Regions from separate parts of the Homo sapiens genome. Here region 1 is linked to region 2. Evidence: promoter capture Hi-C in 16 types of primary human blood cells and fetal thymus (Javierre and others, 2016). All regions are on one chromosome and are shown on one strand. The core of a region is centred on a gene start or on the middle of the fragment in contact, and the rest is flanking DNA. Distances in the headings are between cores, read along the strand shown. Region 1 overlaps RNF123 (ring finger protein 123). Region 2 holds the start of MST1R (macrophage stimulating 1 receptor).

The links. The method cuts DNA at HindIII sites, captures the fragments that hold promoters and counts their contacts. A CHiCAGO score of 5 or more calls a contact.
Region 1: a fragment that was not itself captured here is called in contact with the fragment with the promoter of MST1R in region 2 in 3 of 17 cell types (endothelial precursors, megakaryocytes and erythroblasts); the score reaches 5.9 in endothelial precursors.

The regions. Positions count from the first base shown.
Region 1 is chr3:49,701,023-49,703,722 of GRCh38, reverse strand. It overlaps RNF123 (ring finger protein 123), which reads right to left. Exons shown (of 39, transcript NM_022064.5): 16 at 2,115-2,232; 17 at 1,813-1,912; 18 at 1,579-1,640; 19 at 1,318-1,389; 20 at 970-1,090; 21 at 195-296. Among named protein-coding and RNA genes, the nearest start is that of RNF123, 13 kb to the right of the region's middle. RefSeq lists a silencer at 1-167. The HindIII fragment of the contact is 173 bases long and covers 1,212-1,384 here.
Region 2 is chr3:49,902,594-49,905,293 of GRCh38, reverse strand. MST1R (macrophage stimulating 1 receptor) reads left to right here and starts at 1,421. Exons shown (of 20, transcript NM_002447.4): 1 at 1,421-2,700. The coding sequence starts at 1,685. RefSeq lists enhancers at 376-1,048, 1,037-1,086, 1,723-2,396, 2,397-2,700 and a silencer at 1,277-1,496. The HindIII fragment of the contact is 26,972 bases long and covers 1-2,700 here.

The sequences.
Region 1 (2,700 bases), core at 49-2,548, 200 kb after region 2:
CGTGGGTGCTGGCGGGAAAGAGAAGCTGCCCAGATGTAGGGCAGGCAGATCAGTGTCTCCCTGCCTGAGTGGGTGGAAAGACTTGGGCACCCTCTGGTGGCCATAGGATGGCTCAGCATCCACAGCAGAGCAGGCTCAGGGACAGTCCCCCACCTGGCCCCAGAACTGCTCCCGGCCCACAGGCCTGTACACACCTTTGAGGGTCTTCCGCAGGTGCGAGAGGAGGCCCCCCAGGCGCTGCAGGTCAAAGTAGTCCACCTTGCCATTATAGAAGACCTGGGGCGGGATGTAGGCCTCTGCGAGGAATTGAGGAGGCTAGGCCAGTGGTCACGGCCCAGTAGGAAGACCCTCCCCACAGCCCTCCCCTCCAATCTGGCCTAGCACAGCCTGGGAATTCTGGCTTTGGCCACTCACCCATCCAGGCAGACAGAGAAACTGTCTCCTGGACCAAGAAACAGACCTCCCCTACCTCTTCTCCACCCCTGCCATTTCAGGTCAGAGCCAGCAGCTGCATAACTTGGGGTGATGGGGGTACTCATGGCAGCCGTTCACTCAGGAGAAGCAGAGAGGCCCAGCCCCAGTCCTGTGGGATATCCCCCAATCCAGGGCAGGTAAGGCTCCCACTGACCCTTGGGGACTCAAACACAGGGCCCCCCAGCACCCACCCAAGGCAGCCCTATAAAGGACGCACAGAGAAATGGGGGGGCAAGGACGGAAGAAAAGAGCCCACAATGGTAGGAGCCCGTGGGACAATCAGAGCAAACACAGGATCGGCAGGCCTGCGGTGCAGGGCTCCTGCTGCCCCAGTGGAGAAGCCGCCTGTGGCTGGGTAGGACTCAACCAGGCAGGATGCCGGGGACAACTCCCCACAGCCCACAGCCTCAGCTCAGCACTCTGCACTAACATTAGGGGCTGCCCTACGCCTGGCTCTGTCCAGCCTCACTGACCTGGGACCCCGGTGCCACTCACCCTCACTGAAGGAAGCATGAGGATTGGAAGCCTTGTATTCATCCCAATAGTAGCGCAGGGCAGAGATCAGCCGGTGTAAGAAGCAGACCATGTACTCAGGGGGGCAGAGCATGGGCATGTTCTGTGGACACCAGGCATGAAACATGCATTGGTGCCAGTCCAGTGCCTTGCCCATTCCTCATCCAAGGCCCTGCCTGAGGGTCGAGGGTTAAGCAGGGAGGGAAAAGCAGCAGAGAAAAGCTTGGGGCTAGGCAGGGATGAGGCAGTCCGAGAAGTGCCAGGTGCTGAGGGCATGGCATGTGTAGTGCAGCCGGGGATCCACAGTGGGCTGGCCTGGAGGACACCTACCCCCCGGCCACTGGCGTTCTCCTGCAGAAACTTGCGAAACTTGGTCAGGAAGATATACCTAGAAGCTTCACCCTTTGAGAGAGGGAAAAGTGAGGCTGTGCTGAGCTGAGAATGCAGGCCCAGACTGGGCTGGCTCAGTGCTGCACCTTCCCCCAGCCCCTGCCATGGGAACCAAACCCAGTTCCCACCCTCTGGGTCTTAAGGCCCAGTGCAGCATCCCTCCCCACAGGGCCCCACCCAGGGCTCCTGGGAGTCACTCACCCCATTGTCATCTTTATTGTCCAGCAGCAGCTTCAGGATCTGGACCTGTAGTTCTTCCACCACTGGAGGTCAGGTGAGGAACATGGCCCTCAGGCTCCAGGAGATGGGGGGCAGGTTTGGGCCAGGGCTCCACCACCAGGGTTCCCCAAGTCCCACCTAGACATGGGCACCTCCAAGCACCCTCATGTGCACACACACACCTCCCACCCTACCCCGTGCCCAAGGCGGGCTGACCTTCGATGCGCTTCCTGAGCCGCTGACAGCCCCGTTCGTAGGCTCGCCGCCGCAGCCGCTCCTCTGCGGTCTCCTCCTTCATCTCCGTGCTCTCTTTGCCCTAGGCAGGGGTAGCAGGTGGAATACAGCAGGGTCACCTGGGACCTAGCCAGGCCTCCTTCACTCAGAACACCCACACTCCATCTCCAGGGCTTCAGGGACCAGGGCCAGTGAAAAGGCCTCATGCTAGATGCCCAGTGGCCAGATGCCCAGGCCAGGGGCCTTGCCATGACCTCTGCCCATCCCACTTGGGGTGCACTCACCTCCCTACTGGAGCAGTGGGGCCACCAGGTGGTGGGAATGAGCTCCTGCAGGCCGGCCTCCTCCACACGCAGGGGGCTCTTGATGTAAAAGAAGACGACGGAGCGGAGCACGTCGAAGCTGGCGGGTGTCAAGGCAGGGCTCTGCTTGCCAAAGGGCACTCTGCACACCCTCAAGAGTCCTTCCCCAGGAGCCCATCCCTGGATGTGCCTACCACAGCTCTCCCACCACCACAGGGGCATGTTGCTGCTATGTGTCTGACCCCCAGGGCATGCTCCCTGACAAAAAGCTGTGGTGGTTAAGCCCACCAGCTCCAGTACCCAGCAGGTGCACGATAAGGGCTTGTCACAGGAACAGATGACTGTGGGACAAGCTGGAGAGAGGGACTGGTGGCCTTTTCTCAGGCCCCAACTCTGACCTCTGTGTCTCCCAGCTTTGTGTCTGCCTCCTGGAGGCTGGAAGACCCCAGACCAAGAAAACGGCTACAAGCTGAGGCTTCCCAGCCAGGGGCTCAAAGCTATGCTCTCACTCACTCATGCAGTTCCCAACAATTCTGGGAAGCAGGAAGAGCTGCCTCCTTAAAGATCT
Region 2 (2,700 bases), core at 172-2,671:
CCAGATCTGTCTGTTCACCATGTTGGTCTTGAACTCCTGACCTCAAGCGATCCACCCGCCTCGGCCTCCCAAAGTGCTGGGATTACAGGCGTGAGCCACCACGCCCGGTCACATATTTTATTTTAAAAACATTTTTAGCAGTTTTTTTGTTTTGTTGAGTTTTGTTATGTTGCCCAGGCTGGTCTTGAACTCCTAACCTCAAGCAATCCTCCTGCCTTGGCCCCTCAAAGGAGTGCTAGGATTACAGGCATGAGCCACGGTGCCCAGCCCAGAACTACATTCTCATTGAAGAGAATAAGATCCAGCAAGGCCTACAGAGCATGTTGGAAGTGTCCTGAGAGCCAAAGCCCATGATTCCTCCATATCAGGGGGGCACTGGGTAGAGCCAGGAAGGAAGGGGGAGTCCCCAAGGCCCATACTGTGGACCCCATTATACAGCTTCCATATACTGAGGCTGCAGAGGAGGTATGGGCCTCCACTTACGTGCCTCTCTGACTCTGAGGTCCAGTCAGCAAGGCCAGATCCCATCCTAAGACCCTTATGGCCCTGGGAGAGCAGGGCATAACACACCTTCCTCTGACACCATCTTGTCGCTGATAGCTCAGGAGAAGCACATGGAAGAATGGTCCCGGCCGGGCGCGGTGGCTTACGCCTGTAATCCCAACAGTTTGGGAGGCTGAGGCGGGCGGATCACCTGAGGTCAGGAGTTTGAGACCAGCCTGGCCAACACTGTGAATCCTGTCTCTACTAAAAATACAAAATTAGCCGGGTGTGGTGGTGCGCGCCTGTAATCCCAGCTATTCAGGAGGTTGAGACAGGAGGAGGTTGAGGCTGGAGAATCGCTTGAACCTGGGAGGCGGAGTTTGCAGTGAGCCGAGATCGCGCCACTGCAATCCAGCTTGGGCCACAGAGCAAGACTCCTTCTCAAAAAAAAAAAAGGACAGTCCTTTCCCACAAAGGGTGGCGCCCCATAACATCTCTTGTAAGTGCCCCACATCTCCCCTCTGGTCTTCCACACAATCCTGGTCTCTGTTCTCCACATGGTGGGCCCCCAGGCCACCTCTGGGCACCAGCCACTGAGGGTGTTGCTACTAAGTGCAAACTAGTTCCACCGCAAGCAAAGAGCCCAGTGTCCTGCCCCCCTTCTCGCTGCGAACCAGTCGGTAGTGGGGGGATGGGATGGGACGGCTCAGACTGGCTCACCTCTCTCCAGGCCACACCATGCACATCCACCCACAGGCCGCTGAGAAAAAGGCGCCAAGACGCCAGGTGAAGGTACAGGAGCCAGGCCTCCAAGGGCCGGAAGAGTCGGATGGGCGGAGGGCCTGGGCTAGGCCAAGCCTTCCTCGCGGCCCCGCCCCCACGGCCCGACTCCGCCCGCCCAGCCCGGCGCCCTCGGGTCGGCTGAGCGCTAAGCGCCAGTGTACAGCGGCGGCTGGGGCGGCAGGTGAGGCGGCTGGGGCGTTGCTGTCGTGCGTCCGCAGGCGTCAGGTGCTCAGACCCGAGGGCCGGGAAGGGATTTGGGTTTCACAGGAACCTGGGGCGGGGGTCCGCTATCTTGGGGCTGTCGGGACCGCTGCTTAAATTTGGCCCAGTCCAGACCTCGAGTCGGGCCCCCAGCCAGGCCCACGCCCAGGTCCAGGCCCAGGCCGGTAGGGATCCTCTAGGGTCCCAGCTCGCCTCGATGGAGCTCCTCCCGCCGCTGCCTCAGTCCTTCCTGTTGCTGCTGCTGTTGCCTGCCAAGCCCGCGGCGGGCGAGGACTGGCAGTGCCCGCGCACCCCCTACGCGGCCTCTCGCGACTTTGACGTGAAGTACGTGGTGCCCAGCTTCTCCGCCGGAGGCCTGGTACAGGCCATGGTGACCTACGAGGGCGACAGAAATGAGAGTGCTGTGTTTGTAGCCATACGCAATCGCCTGCATGTGCTTGGGCCTGACCTGAAGTCTGTCCAGAGCCTGGCCACGGGCCCTGCTGGAGACCCTGGCTGCCAGACGTGTGCAGCCTGTGGCCCAGGACCCCACGGCCCTCCCGGTGACACAGACACAAAGGTGCTGGTGCTGGATCCCGCGCTGCCTGCGCTGGTCAGTTGTGGCTCCAGCCTGCAGGGCCGCTGCTTCCTGCATGACCTAGAGCCCCAAGGGACAGCCGTGCATCTGGCAGCGCCAGCCTGCCTCTTCTCAGCCCACCATAACCGGCCCGATGACTGCCCCGACTGTGTGGCCAGCCCATTGGGCACCCGTGTAACTGTGGTTGAGCAAGGCCAGGCCTCCTATTTCTACGTGGCATCCTCACTGGACGCAGCCGTGGCTGCCAGCTTCAGCCCACGCTCAGTGTCTATCAGGCGTCTCAAGGCTGACGCCTCGGGATTCGCACCGGGCTTTGTGGCGTTGTCAGTGCTGCCCAAGCATCTTGTCTCCTACAGTATTGAATACGTGCACAGCTTCCACACGGGAGCCTTCGTATACTTCCTGACTGTACAGCCGGCCAGCGTGACAGATGATCCTAGTGCCCTGCACACACGCCTGGCACGGCTTAGCGCCACTGAGCCAGAGTTGGGTGACTATCGGGAGCTGGTCCTCGACTGCAGATTTGCTCCAAAACGCAGGCGCCGGGGGGCCCCAGAAGGCGGACAGCCCTACCCTGTGCTGCGGGTGGCCCACTCCGCTCCAGTGGGTGCCCAACTTGCCACTGAGCTGAGCAT